5 separate regions of the Homo sapiens genome follow, and all the other regions are linked to region 5. Evidence: promoter capture Hi-C in 16 types of primary human blood cells and fetal thymus (Javierre and others, 2016). All regions are on one chromosome and are shown on one strand. The core of a region is centred on a gene start or on the middle of the fragment in contact, and the rest is flanking DNA. Distances in the headings are between cores, read along the strand shown.

Evidence for each region. The method cuts DNA at HindIII sites, captures the fragments that hold promoters and counts their contacts. A CHiCAGO score of 5 or more calls a contact.
Region 1: a contact is called between a fragment that was not itself captured here and the fragment with the promoter of SMAD1-AS2 in region 5, in 4 of 17 cell types (endothelial precursors, activated CD4 T cells, M2 macrophages and 1 more). The highest score is 7.3, in endothelial precursors.
Region 2: a fragment that was not itself captured here is called in contact with the fragment with the promoter of SMAD1-AS2 in region 5 in 5 of 17 cell types (erythroblasts, endothelial precursors, fetal thymus and 2 more); the score reaches 7.3 in erythroblasts.
Region 3: a fragment that was not itself captured here is called in contact with the fragment with the promoter of SMAD1-AS2 in region 5 in 1 of 17 cell types (endothelial precursors); the score reaches 5.1 in endothelial precursors.
Region 4: a fragment that was not itself captured here is called in contact with the fragment with the promoter of SMAD1-AS2 in region 5 in 1 of 17 cell types (erythroblasts); the score reaches 6.2 in erythroblasts.

What each region holds. Positions count from the first base shown.
Region 1 is chr4:145,227,432-145,230,303 of GRCh38, reverse strand. No RefSeq gene overlaps it. Among named protein-coding and RNA genes, the nearest start is that of OTUD4, 48 kb to the right of the region's middle. The HindIII fragment of the contact is 1,115 bases long and covers 724-1,838 here.
Region 2 is chr4:145,206,339-145,209,300 of GRCh38, reverse strand. No RefSeq gene overlaps it. Among named protein-coding and RNA genes, the nearest start is that of OTUD4, 27 kb to the right of the region's middle. The HindIII fragment of the contact is 3,706 bases long and covers 1-2,962 here.
Region 3 is chr4:145,160,227-145,162,985 of GRCh38, reverse strand. OTUD4 (OTU deubiquitinase 4) reads left to right here. Exons shown (of 21, transcript NM_001366057.1): 6 at 265-346. Among named protein-coding and RNA genes, the nearest start is that of OTUD4, 19 kb to the left of the region's middle. The HindIII fragment of the contact is 2,660 bases long and covers 132-2,759 here.
Region 4 is chr4:145,184,514-145,187,429 of GRCh38, reverse strand. LOC124900794 (a long non-coding RNA gene) reads right to left here. Exons shown (of 2, transcript XR_007058294.1): 2 at 2,588-2,916. Among named protein-coding and RNA genes, the nearest start is that of OTUD4, 5.4 kb to the right of the region's middle. The HindIII fragment of the contact is 519 bases long and covers 1,278-1,796 here.
Region 5 is chr4:145,501,453-145,504,453 of GRCh38, reverse strand. It overlaps SMAD1-AS2 (SMAD1 antisense RNA 2), which reads left to right and starts at 1,474. Exons shown (of 2, transcript NR_108077.1): 1 at 1,474-1,578. All of the region lies in intron 1 of SMAD1 (SMAD family member 1), which reads right to left. The HindIII fragment of the contact is 25,873 bases long and covers 1-3,001 here.

The DNA.
Region 1 (2,872 bases), core at 32-2,531, 270 kb after region 5:
GACCACCATGCCTGGCTAATTTTTTGGCATTTTGAATAGAGACGGGGTTTCACCATGTTGCCCAGGCTGGTCTTGAACTCCTGGCCTCAAGTGATCTGCCTGCTTTGGCCTCCCAAAGTGCTGGAATTACAGGCATAAGCCATTGCACCAGGCCTTCTTTTTTTTTTTTATGTATAACAAATAGAATTTATTTCTCACAGTTCTGGATGCTGGGAAGTCCAAGGTCAAGGTGCCAGGAGGTTCTGTGTCTGGTGAAGTCAGCTCTCTGCTTCATAGGTGGTGCTCTGTTGTTGCATACTCACATGGTGGGAGGAAGACAGGCAAGAGGGCCTGACTAGTTCTCTCCACCCCCAAGGTCACTAATGAGAGCTCCACCCTCATGACCTAATCAGCTTCTACAGGCCCTCTATACCTAATTCCATTGCACTGGGTATTTAAGTTTCAACATGAATTTTGAGGGGGACATAAGCTTTCAAACCATAGCGCCTCCCTAATGAATAAGTTTCTTGTATGTATTTTATTTTTTCTTCCAGTGCAAGTATTTCTGTTTCTATGAGCTCTCTAAATAGTGATTCAGGGACTCAGATTTCATCCATCTTTGACCTTTTCATCTTCAACATATGATTCCTAACATCATAATAGTAAAGTTTGCCTTCATTCCAGCCAATTTAAAGAGGAAAAGAGCATGGATGATCAAACATGCAGTTTTTCATGAGCCAAGCTTGAAAGAGGGATAAACCCTTTATACTCACCTCCCATTGGTCAATTCAGTCTCAATGTGTCACCTACATACAAGGGGATGGGAAATGTGGCTCCTGGATGAGTGTTTACTTCCTAGAATAATCTGACATTAGGAAAGTATAGAAAGAAAATTTTGAGAACCACTAGTCTCTAGATTGAAACCATGTATTATGACTTTCTAGATCAGAAGTGAGTAGTTTAAGGCATTAATGTATAAGGAGAACAGGGTATTGTTGGAAGTCTGTACATGGATATTCTCTGTATGCTTCTCCAGACCCACTATCTATTCTTTCTGGCTCTTCTTTGAACCTCTGGTGACTGAGCTGTGCAGAATGCATCATGGATCCCCTGTCTTCTGGCTTCCAGTTGGTTCCAGAAGTCAACAGGCAGGAGCAGAGGCCTGGCTAGCTTCCTGCAGGTCTACAGTATGGCAATAGTTGTGTGCCCCCACTAAGACCCTACTTTTGTCTGGCACATTCAGCCTTTGCCAGCTTCCAATTGCCAATCCCTCATATTGCCCCCTTAGCCCTTAGATTTATTTGACTCATGGTTCTGCAGACTGGGAAGTCCAAAAGCATGGTGCTCTAGCATCTGCCAAGGGTCACCCCACAGTGGAAGGCAGAATGACAAGGAAGCATACAAGGCAGAGAGAAAATCAAGCCAAACTCATCTGTTTATCAGGAGACCACTCCCAAGATAATGGCATTAATCTTTCACCTCTTAGAGGCCCCACTTCTGAATACTGTTACAAAGGCAATTAAGTTTCCAACACATGAAATTTTGGGGGACACATTAAAACCATAACATAGGCATATGTCAAAATGCATCTAAATGGGGGTTCCATTCCAAGATGGTCGAATAGGAACACCTCCGGTCTGCAGCTCCCAACACGATTGATGCAGAAGACAGGTGATTTCTACATTTCCAACTGTGCTCTGAAGAGAGCAGTGGTTCTCCCAGCATGGCCTTTGAGGTCTGAGAACAGACAGACTGTCCCCAAGTGGGTCCCTGAACCCCATGTAGCCTAACTGGGAGACACTTTACAGTAGGAGCCAATGGGCACCTCATACAGACAGGTGACCTTCTGGGACGAAGCTTCCAGAGGAAAGATCAGGCAGCAATATTTGCTGTTCTGCAATATTTGCCGTTCTGCAGCCTCTGCTGGTGACACCCAGGCAAACAGAGTCTGGAGTGGACCTCCAGCAAACTCCAGCAGACCTGCAGCTGAGGGACCTGACTTGTAGAAGGAAAACTAACAAACAGAAAGGAATAGCATCAACATCAACAAAAAGGACATCCACACCAAAACCCCATCTGTAGGTCACCAACATCAAAGACCAAAGGTAGATAAAACCACAAAGATGGGGAGAAACCAGAGCAGAAAAGCTGAAAATTCTAAAAACCAGAGCCTCTTCTCCTCCAAAGGATCACAGCTCCTCGCCAGTAATGGAACAAAGCTGGATGGAGAATGACTTTGACGAGTGGACAGAAGTAGGCTTCAGAAGGTCAGTAATTACAAACTTCTCCAAGCTAAAGGAGCATGTTCTAACCCATTACAAGGAAGCTAAAAACCTTGAAAAAAGGTTAGACGAATGGCTAACTAAAATAAACCGTGTAGAGAAGACCTTAAATGACCTGATGGAGCTGAAAACCATGACACGAGAAATTTGTGATGCATGCACAAGCTTCAATAGCCGATTTGATCAAATGGAAGAAAGGGTATCAGTGATTGAAGATCAAATGAATGAAATAAAGTGAGAAGACAAGGTTAGAGAAAAAAGAGTAAAAAGAAATGAACAAAGCCTCCAAGAAATATGGGACTATATGAAAAGACCAAATCTACATTTGATTGGTGTACCTGAAAGTGCTGGGGAGAATGGAACCAAGTTGGAAAACACTCTTCAGGATATTATCCAGGAGAACTTCCCCAACCTAGCAAGGCAGGCCAACATTCAAATTCAGGAAATACAGAGGAACATCACAAAGATACTCCTTGAGAAGAACAACCCCAAGACACATAATTGTCAGATTCACCAAAGTTGAAATGAAGGAAAAAATGTTAAGGGCAGCCAGAGAGAAAGGCCGGGTTACCCACAAAGGGAAGCCCATCAGACTAACAGCGGATCTCTCC
Region 2 (2,962 bases), core at 290-2,789, 300 kb after region 5:
GAGTATTTTGACACCAAGGGATCTGTGGTGGTGGCTAACTGAACAAAGTGTTCTTAGGAATGAAATAGATGGCAGCATACTAACACATTTGATCTATACCATCAGAAATATTCTAGAAGTGAGGAGCTGAAACCTTACCTGATCACTGCAAAAGGAATTCATAGCCTCTCACATTTCCCAGATCTAAGCCAATTCGACAGCTTGGGACCCTTTGAAAGGGAGAGTGGGGTTTTTTTTCTTTTTTTCTTTTCTTTGTTGAAACGGAATTTTGCTCTTGTCACTCAGGCTGGAGTGCAATGGCACGATCTTGGCTCTCTGCAACCTCTGCCTCCTGGGTTCAAGCAATTCTCCTGTCTCAGCCTCCCAAGTAGCTAGGATTACAGGCACCGGCCAACATGCCCGGCTAATTTTTGTATTTTTAGTACAGATGGGGTTTCACTATGTTGGCCTGGCTAGTCTCGAACTCCGGACCTCAGGTGATCCACCTGCCTTGGCCTCCTGAAGTGCTGGGATTACAGGTGTGAGTCACCGTGCCCAGCCAGGAGTATGGGTTTTATCAGGAAGGATCTGAAAACACTGCCTGCTTGTACTAGAAATCGTCCTTCAAACCTACCCCGTGAGATCTGCAGTCCTTTACCAGGATGACTGTGCACTGGGAAAAGACAAGTATCCAAATTTGGGGGAATTCATAGATTTGAGTTGATGCTAATCAAATTTGAGTTGATGCTAATCCCTGGGAAAAATCACTGTGATCCATCATTCATTCAGAATGGGGGCTTATAGAGGTCAGGGGGTTAATGGAGTTTGGGGCTGAGACTATGTCACAGTGGGCCCAGTGGGCTCGCAGCCCCATCCTGTGGTTATATCCTCTGTCTCTGGATATATCTCTGGATAGTTGAGGTAGACATACCTAGCAACTGCAGAATCTCACATGCAACTACTCATAACTCAGAGTACAGTGGAGAGGGGAGCAAAAAGAAGATATTCGGTACAGCCTCTTTTCTCACCCATCGTGGTACTTGATTGCATACAAAGTGACCATAGCAGTAGGGATAGAGTCAATCATAACAGGGACTTCAATAACAGAGACTTCCCTTAACAAGGCTGATCTGACTATAGCCACTGCTGGGTGCCCAACCAGCCAACAGCAGAGGCCAACACTGAGTCACTGATAGGGCACATTTCCCAGAGGAGACCAGCCAGCTGTTTTGTGGTAGGTAGACAATAGTGAGCTCCTTCCATCACAGAAGGAGCAAATTAAGCACTTACTGAGGATATGCATTGGTCCTCAATGCCTGCAATAAATCTCCCAATACCATCTATGGGTTCACAGGAGGCCTTATTCAGTAGCATGGTATTCCTTACAATATGACTTCTGGAAACCATTTTACAAAAAAAAAAAAAAAAAAGTACAATTGTTCATTGCTCATGGAGTTCACTGGTCTTACTACCTAAATTATCAGCCAGAAGCAGCTGGCCTAATAGAATGGAAGAATAGCTTACTAAGAAGCCAGTTATGTCATCTGCCAGAAGACAACATTCTATGATGTAGGGGTGCAGTATAACTCTGATCCAGCTCTCTACTTATGATGTGTTATTTCTCTCATAGCCATAATACATGGGATAGTCCAAGTGATAGAAATGGGAGTGGCCTCTCTCCCTGTTAAGCCTAGCCCTTTCTCAGAGGTTTTGCCTCTCATTCTCACCCTTGGGCTTTGCTAGTTTACAGGACTTAGTTCCCAAAGAGGAATATTGTCACCAGAGAATCCAACACAAGTCCCATCAAATTGGAAGCTGAGACTCACCAACAAGTAGAGAAGGAAGTTGCTGTAGAGACTGGAAAAATTGATCTGATTAACACAAGAAAACTGGGTGGCTGGTGCATGGTGCAGGTAGGGAGGATCATGTCTAGAACCCCAGGGATTCTCTAGGATATCTCATTACTTCTATGTCCAGTGTAAAGCCACCCAATAAAATCTGAACTTCTATGGACTAAGATCCTTCAATATAAAGGTCTTAGTCACCCAATCAGGTACAGAATCCCAACAAATCCAGGTGCTATATTAGGACAAAGCAATCATGAAATGGGTGGTGGAAGAAGGAAGTAATAAATATCACTCTTGACCCTGTAATCAGTTACAGAAATATGGATCATAGCAGCTATGCACATACACGCACACAATATTTCATATGTGCCAGTTTTTTTTTCTTTCAGATTTTCTTACCATTATCTTCCCTCTTATGTTGAATGAGAATTGGTAGTGACTAATTTTACAATTTAGTTCACAGGTAACCAGGACCACAAGGAACCACAACAGGGAGGATTACAGGATTGTGTTATCACCTGGAAAATCTTGAGATAGGTACAATGGCTGACTTTTCTAGGACCTTGTGTGTCCATTTTCTGGAAAAAAAGACAACAGTATCTTTGTTTGCATGATGGATAGTAGACTCATGTTAGGCAGAATCATGGAGTTGCTGTTGTATTGGTATAAGGGTGTTATGGTTTGGCTCTGTGTCCCCACCCAAATCTCACCTTGAATTGTAATAATCCCCATATGTCCTGGGAGGAACCTGGTGAGAGGTAATTGAATCATAGGGGCGGGTTTTCCTCCACTGTTTTCATGATAGTGAATAAGTCTCATGAGATATGATGGTTTTATAAAGGGGAGATCCCCTGCACAAGCTCTCTTGCCTGCCACCATGTAAGATGTACCTCTGCTTCCCCTTTGCCTCTGCCATGATTGTGAGGCCTCCCCAGCCATGTGAATGTGTGAGCCCATTAAATTTCTTTCCTTTATAAATTACCCAGTCTCAGGTAAATCTTTATTAGCAGCATGACAACAGACTAATACAAAGAATAAGAATAGATCCTGAATGGCAAAATGGTTAGACTCTCAAATAAATTTTCTGCCTTTTCTGTGCTCCCCCCACGCTATCTCACAGGAAAGTACATTTTCCA
Region 3 (2,759 bases), core at 212-2,711, 340 kb after region 5:
TGTTTTCATATATTATTTTTATTTTTTTGTGATCCTATAAACATTTCCAGAAATCATTTTGAATTTTTTGATTTAATGTTTATATAACATTTCAGCATATGGATGTACTGTAGCTTGACAACACTGAAGCTTTAGGTTACTCCTAAAATACTCACTGTCTGTTTGGAAATGATCTAGTAATTCAGAGGCATTGGAGACATACATTGCTATGTAAATGTTATATGTATGAGGGGCTGAAATGTTTCTTTTATTTTTCCCTTTCAGGTGTTACTGTGTTTTTCAAATGGAAATCATTATGATATTGTGTATCCCATAAAGTATAAAGAAAGCTCTGCTATGTGTCAGTGTAAGTATCACCTTGTGTTTATATGGGAAATTATATTCCTAAACTTATACAGTCTTTTTGTTTTTTGTTTTGTTTTTTGTTTTTTTTTGAGACGGAGTCTCGCTCTGTCTCCCAGGCTGGAGTGCAGTGGCGTGATCTCCGCTCACTGCAAGCTCTGCCTCCGGGGTTCATGCCACTCCTGCCTCAGCCTCCCGAGTAGCTGGGACTACGGGCGCCCGCCACAACGCCTGGCTAATTTTTTTGTATTTTTAATAGAGACTAGGTTTCACCGTGTTAGCCAGGGTGGTCTCGATCTCCTGACCTCGTGATCCGCCCGCCTCGACCTCCCAAAGTGCTGGGATTACAGGCGTGAGCTACCGTGCCCGGCCTTATACAGTCTTAATGTAAACAAATCAGAGCAAATAATTCTATTCTGTTATAATATAAAAGATATGTCCAAGAACCTTAAATTACCAAGAGTATTAATATTATAATAAAAACTTGTTGCAGTAGGAGGAAAGGTAGCTGGGCATGGTGGCGCATGCCTGTGGTCCCAACTACTTGGGAGGCTGAGGTGGGAGGATCACTTGAGCCCAGGAAGTCAAGGCTGCAGTGAGCTATTATTGTGCCACTACACTCCAGCTTGGGCAGCAGAGTGAGACCTTGTTTCAAAGTGAAGCAAAGCAAAACAAAACAGAGAGAAATTGGAGGAAAGGGAGCTTGTGGCTAGAGTTTGACTTGTAAATACCAACTTTTTTTTCCTGCAATCATTTTGGTAATAAAGATTTATATGCATTTTAAAAACTGTTAGTGTATAGCTTGAAAATCCAAATGACTGAGCAAATCAAACATTTGATTGTATTTGGCTCCGGGGCAGCATTTTGAACCTTGGAACTATTGATATTTTCGGCCAGATACTCCTCTGTTGTAGGCTCTCTTGTGAACTTCAGAATGTTAAGTAGCATCCTTGGCTTCTACCTAGTGGATGGCAGTAACACACTCTCTCTCCCTTTGTGACAACCAATAATATTTCCAGATTTTGCCAAATGTTTCCTGGGCATATGAATTCCCTTTGCCCTTCTTCTGTGTGAGAATTCCTGCTGTAGAAGAGCAGTGACCCTTCCTACCAGTTTCTTTTATATCATCCGTTCTGGCAAAGTACAGATCAGTCATAAAGCAGTGGTGCTGGGCTTGTGACAGCTTTTTCCTCTGCTCTTAAGCTAGTGGTAACCAGTAAAGATATGTGCAATACACTATTTTAAATAATTAATCCATTGTAAGATATCGAAGTGTAGCCTCTGTACCCTGGGCTGTGTCTTCTCCCTCCTAGCTAGTCACAATCTGGACACCTCAGCTTTGGGAAAGATAGCTCCTAGAGCTTGTCTTTCCTGTGATTCTAAGTGCCTGTGGTTTGGGTGATACGAGGGCTGCAACTCCTGTTACTGGAACCTGGAAGAAAGATGGTCTATAAGAAGGAAGTCTCTGTGGGAACTCATTTAGAGGTGGACACCCAGTGTTTGTTGTTGTTGTTGTTGTTGTTGTTGTTGTTTTGAGGTGGAGTGTTGCTCTCTCGCCTAGGCTGGAGTGCAGTGGCACAATCTTGGCTCACTGCAACTTCCGCCTCCTGGGTTTAAGCTATTCTCCTGCCTCAGCCTCCCGAGTAGCTTGGATTACAGATGCCCGCCACCAAGTCTGGCTAATTTTTGTATTTTTAGTAGAGATGGGGTTTCACCATCTTGACCAGGCTGGTCTTAAACCCCTGACCTCAACTGATCCGCCTACCTCAGCCTCCCAAAGTGCTGGAATTACAGGCATGAGCGCTATCCTGTCCGGCCTTTGCTGTTTTTTAAGACAGGGTCTCGCTCTGTCACCCAGGCTGGAGTGCAGTGGCATGATCTCAGTTCACTGCAACCACTGGCTTCTGGGTTCAAGCGATTCTGCTGCCTCGGCCTCCTGCGTAGCTGGAATTACAGGTGTGCACCACCACACCTGGGTAATTTGTGTATTTTTAGTAGAGACAGGGTTTCACCATGTTGGCCAGGCTGGTCTTGAACTCCTGACCTCCAGTGATCTGCCCGCCTTGGTCTCCCAAAGTGTTGGGATTACAGGTGTGAGCCTCCACACCTGGCCCCATTGTTGATGAATTCTTAGTACATTGTTTTCTTAAAGCTCATTGTTATAAAACCAAATCAGAGTCCTAAAATCCATGTATTTTTGAATTTTTGTTAAAATATATTTCCCTATATTCAAGACTGGAGTTTTAAAATTTTACTTTATTTAAAGCAGCAAAGTTGTCTAAATATGCTTCTTTCTTTCAGTGGCTGCTGAGAATATATTTTGTAACAGCTGCTTTTTTAGTTCCTTATGTAAAATTAAAATCTGGAGCTAGGTTATGTAGTCAAACATCCTCTTTTTCTATAGCAACCTGAGAAGT
Region 4 (2,916 bases), core at 288-2,787, 320 kb after region 5:
TTAAGTATTACTTAACATATAATCTTGGTCCACTGTTCTATATCAAATATTTAGACCTCAACCTACAGGTTGAGGTTCCATAACCTGTGGTTATTTATGTATTTTCATTTGAAATACTTTCTTCTTTGAGCATTTCATTGGGAATACATGAAATCATTTAATGAATATTCATTGAATTTTTAATCTGAATATGCAAAAGCAAATATACTATTAGACACTTGAAAAAGAAAAAAAGAATCTTAAATTCTACAAGCCTACAAAGAGTTTACAATCCTATTTGGGGAGCTAAAGTAAATACCTTGCAATGGGACTTTGCAAGTTTGCTTCTGTCAGGGTGGAATCAAGAGGTAGTGGTGGAAGGAGAGGTAAATGGTTGGAAGTACGTGGAGGTTTTATTTGCAGAGATAATGGACTATGACTAGCTATAGCTACTTGTGTAAGAGCCTCAGTCTACTGTGAGGTTTATTAGTTCATCCAGCTTAGGCATAGGAATATACGGAAGTCGAAGCTCTAATAAGAAACTAAATCATAGTTTCACTTCTCTAGTCATACAGGTTATAGGGTCTCAGGACTGCAGTCCTAGCTCTGGGGTTTGAAACTTATTCAGTTCATCTGTCTAAAGTGCAGATGGGGGCTCTTTTTTCTCTACTAGGATTGAGTAAGGATCTCATGGCATATACCAACTTTGGTACTACAGAGCAGTCAAGCTACGAAGTGCTGGTACAGTTAAGTAGCATGGCCAACAAGAGATGCTCCCTCATGCGGAGGCTGGATGGTGAGCTAGAAAAGACAGATATCTGAGCATTTGCAGCCAAGCCCCTTGCAAGGTCCTTCTCTAGGTTAGCTCACTTGGCTAATAGATGGCACCAGGGTCCTGGCCCCTTTACCCTTCCTTGTACTTCCTTCCTTCTTTCCTTTTTTTTTTTCTTTTGTAATTTTTTGAATTGATCTTGATGACCATTAAGCCAGAGTGAAATTTTAAAAATTACTTTAAAAACTAAGAAAAGTGGTCTTCTTTTCTTTCAAGCCTTGATCTTCAAACACTCTCCTGCAGTAAGAAGTATTTGCTTCCCATTTTGGGAGATGAAGTCTCCCCTCTGTAATTCTTTTGATCCTTTTGCTCTAGCAAGGAAAAGGTAAACTAACTCATGCAATGTTATTTTCTGCTATGCAGGAATGTATAGTATTGAAGACTTGGAAGGCTTGTGAAGGACTTTGCTAAGGTTGATATTCCAAGTTACCAGAGAAGGTGGGCAATGCGTATAGAATCATAAGCTTACTAGGTAAAATCTTTTACTACTACCAGCCAGTTCCTCCTTGTGATAGCTTGCAAATGAAACACAAAAGCTATAGCATACATTCTCTCCTATCATTTCATTCTGTTGTAAATTTACAGATAAGATTATTTTTCTGAATGATCATTCCTCCAAAATATAAATTGGAAATGTAGTCCCATCACACCAGTTTTTTCCTGATTTTCCTGAGCATTTAACTAAATTATTTCATTTGCAAAAAGTTGGTTTTTATCACCTTGACTATAACTCCTTATTGTTTCTCATCTATTCCACAGAGAATGGATAACGATTAAGCAAAAACAAGAGCTATCTACCATAATAAATGATACATCATTAAATCATTCAGCAAATGTTGTGTTTTTTGAGTATCTACTATTTAAACCCAATGCTTGATGTTAGAGTGCTTGAGGGGGATGGTTTTAAGGGAAAAATGAGTTTACTTTTAGAAATGTGTTTTAGATGGAAATGTCCTGCATGGACTAGAGATAAGACATTAAAGCTTGAAAAAGAGAACAGGGCTAAATAAAGTTAAAACTTGAGACCTGGGGCACCCCCACATTTAGGAGATGGGGAGTGGGGGAGAAAAGGAATCAGCAAAGGAGATATAATCAAGACAAGATATTTAAATAGCTTGACTACACAAGATATCTCACCTTACAAAAGGTGAAGGAGAGTAACAAAATGAAAAGGTGGTCAACACCATCAAATGTAGCAGCTGAAGGGGAATGTGGGTTGGTGAGGGAGAAAGTCATTAGTTGAAATAACACCATTATTTCGATGTTAAAACTTCATATTTTGAAGCCCTTTAACATTTGGAATCTTGCAATTAAGACTTTGGCAATTCCCTAACTTCTCAGAAAAAAGAATTATGGGCCAGGTGTGGTGGCTCACGCCTGTAATCTCAGCACTTTTGGAGGCTGGGGCAGGAGGATTGCTTGTACTCAGGAGTTTGAGACCAGCTGGGGCAACATGGCGAAAACCCATCTCTACTAAAAACACACAAAATATTAGCTGGGAGTGGGGGTGCACACCTGTAGTCCCAGCTACTTTGGAGGCTAAGGTAGGAAGATCACCTGAGCCTGGGGAGGTGAGCCGTGATGGTGCCACTGCACTCCAGCCTGGGTGACAGACTCTGTCTCAAAAGAAAAAAAAAAAGAATTATGTTCTGCTCAACTCAGAAACTCTTATAAATAAATTTAATTTGTCCCAAATGTTATCACTTATTTAATATTTGAGGGGGAAATGTGCTAGAATACATAGACTAAGTAGCTATAATAACAACAGCAGCAACGGTTGGTAAAATAAGTTTATTTCTCACAGTCTGGAGAGGACTGGTTCAAGGATCACAGGCTATGAAGTATTCAGGAGCTCAGTCCTCCATCTCATTGCTCTGTTATCTTACGGTGTTGTCTTTGCATGATCAAAGCTGGGTAACTAGTTTCGTTTTTTGTTTTTTTTTTTTGAGACGGAATCTCCCTCTGTTGCCCACCCAGGCTGAAGTGCAATGGCCGGATCTTGGCTCGCTGCAACCTCCGCCTCTCGGTTTCCAGCGATTCTTCTGCCTCAGCCTCCCGAGTAGCCGGGATTACAGGCGTGTGCCACCACAACCAGCTAATTTTTG
Region 5 (3,001 bases), core at 225-2,724:
GGAAAATGATAAATATCTACCCTTAAGGTTAAGGCAGACAGGCAAAAGACAAGTTAAAATTTGCTATACAAGTCCAATGCCATTACAATGAATATAAAAACAGAAATGGATCTAGTTATTTCAGTTCCAGAAAATACCCTAAAGTAGCAATGTTCTTTGATCTGGTTCAACAAATAATGTTCAAATGCTTCTTTAACCCAGTTACTCCAGTTAGGAGCTAACCAGGTTTTCAGATACAGTAAAGTCCTTACGGGTTCTTGGAAACTGTGGCTCTAAGTGAAACGATGTAAAACAAAATTAATTTTAGCATCAGCTAATTTATATAAACAAGAGTTAAGTTCCTTCAGGACATTTCTGGTCACAAAAACATTACCAAACTTCTGAGACCCAAAACACTTCTAAAATTAACACTGAAATAAATGTGAGCCATATATACATTTAAGAAAGATGAACAGAAACAAGATAATTATTTACCCAATTATTCCAATTCAGGGTCGCAGTGGCCCGAGCCGATCCCAGCAGCTTAGGGCACAAGGTGGGAACCACCCCTGGACAGGACACCATTTCATGGCAGGGCGCACTCACACACACACCTACATGCACTGCAATGGGGACAATGTAGACATACTAATTCACCTAACGTGCACACCTTTGGGATATGGGAGGAAACTAGAGTAGCCAGAGAAAACCCAAGCAGACATGGGGAGAATGTGCAAACTCCACACAGACAGTGGCCTAGGCTGGGAATGTTTTTTCTCATCAACGTTATAAGGAAATGGCATTGAATGAAATGAGGTTGTCTGAGGACCTGCTGTATTTGTATTGGAGGAGGAAACAGGTGAAGTGCCTGCATTCCTTTTTCCTGTTTTAAAACAGCAGTTAGCCCTCAACTTTCAACATTTGTCTCAATCTCAAATGAGTCAAATTTAGCTAAATAAAACTCACCACTAAGCAAAATAAGGGAGGAAAAAACCTCTAGAACAGAAAGAAAAATGAAAATGGATAAAACCTTGCTCTTTACTGATGCTAACGTACTTCATAAAGTACAGCGCTTAACTTCATTGCTAAAAAGGCTATAATGAACTCTATTTCGCTTTAGTCCTTAGGGGAAAAATGTATTTAAACCAAATTCCTACACAAGAAAGCCATACGGAGACCCACAGAGAACACAGAACTCTGCTGCTCTCAGTTCACAGCAGCAGGAGAGTCCTACCATCACAAACACCACAAGTAAAGTTCCATCTTACTGAGCCTCTTACTATTCAGCCTTGATCTGGCTACTTCCAAACATGGGACTGATGATGCAGAATAGCTAGTTTGACATTTTTCCCACTGAAAATTTATTTTTGCCGGAGACTGATTTTCTAAATCTGGAGAAATTGGGGGTTGGAGATAGGAGAGAGGTTCAGTTCGTGAAATTCTATTTATAGTGATGCAATAATGCAGGTACTATTGCCTTTAAAGCGCAGACACTGTGCGTTTAAAGCGCAGACACTGACAGCAAGTCTTCCAGTCTCTCCAGTATAACTTAAGTGACATGCCAGCAAGAGATGCAATTTGGTCCCTCAACAGTGTTAAGTGAGTAGAAATCTTAGGAATCAAAAAGAAAAGGAATACCATGTAGACTGAATTCCAGCTTACTACTTACCACTTGTAAGTTCACTGAAGCTGTGAAATTTCAGCCAAACAATTTCAAAAGTAGCATCTCCTTGATGAAAAGGAAGCAAGGAACTTATGGATGTCAGAATGACAAGAGTCTCTAAGGATATAACTGTAGTTTATTTATTTTAGGTGTGCCAAGTGTGCTATTAACGTATCTTCATTATATCAGAAAATTCTTTAAAAAGAGTTCTTTCTGGTTCTGTTCTGCATACACAAATCCTTCCATCCTGACAAATCTAGGCTGCTAATAGAGTACCTGGTTAATTTTTCTTAATCACAGAGATTCCCTATAAAATAGCAGCTGTCACATCTGTTTTGTCTGATTAGATGATTACTTGAATAGTTAAGGCAATTGAAAGTTTTCTTATTGTCCCCAACTTCAACAAACAAAGTTGGCTTTTCTATATCTTCTTGCCATTTCCTCTAAAAGTTGTACAACATTCCTTAATCCCATTGAACCCCCATTCCCAAATTCATGCTTGTAATGGCATACTGTCCTTCAGGACACGGTAGCCTTTCAAGATGTCCAGCTCCCCATAAGCTCATCCTGATAAAGGCCATTCACATTCATGTCAACTCAAACACTGTAAAGACTCCTGGCCTACAAATGCTCACTCCTCAAACACAGGAAAGATTGAAGACCACAGACATTTTAAGATTTAATTTTATTGACTATCCCAGGAGAAAGTCTATGGTAGTTGTCTCAGAAAAAACTATTCTCTTTGAGTCAGTTATCCTAAAATAGCAATTTTAGACTACAAAGAATGCTAAATGTGGTAGATTTCCGTAAGTGGCTAGTTATGAATGATTCGTCAGTAGCTAATAAACGAAATTGTTTGAGTTACCAACTTATACAAGCATTATACTGGTTGTTTTTACAAACATTATTACATTGACTCCTCACACCAATGCTTCAAGGTAGAAATCATTATCTCAATTTTAGTAATAAACTTGAGGCTCAGAGGTTAAAGTAACTTTCTCCAGACCATATTCTGGTAAGTAGTATATCTATATTTTAAACCAGTACTGACTAATACTGAAGTCCCTCAGTCAAGTTTAAAAAAAAAAAAGGTAATCCAAATATCAAATTCACAGATGAAAATGGAATCAACTACAGGAGGAAAAAACTATCCCTTTAAAAAAAAAAAAAGAAACAAAAATCCTGCTGTATTTCATGTTTTGGAACATATTTCTCTCGCTCCACTGATCTCACAGGTGCTGTTTATGACAACAAACATGCACATCTGTAGGGGTGAACTGACAGACACAAAGCAGGACGGCCTGAACTCTCTTCCTATATTTAGATCCTTCAGCTCAGCTCTTAATTGCATAATTTAAT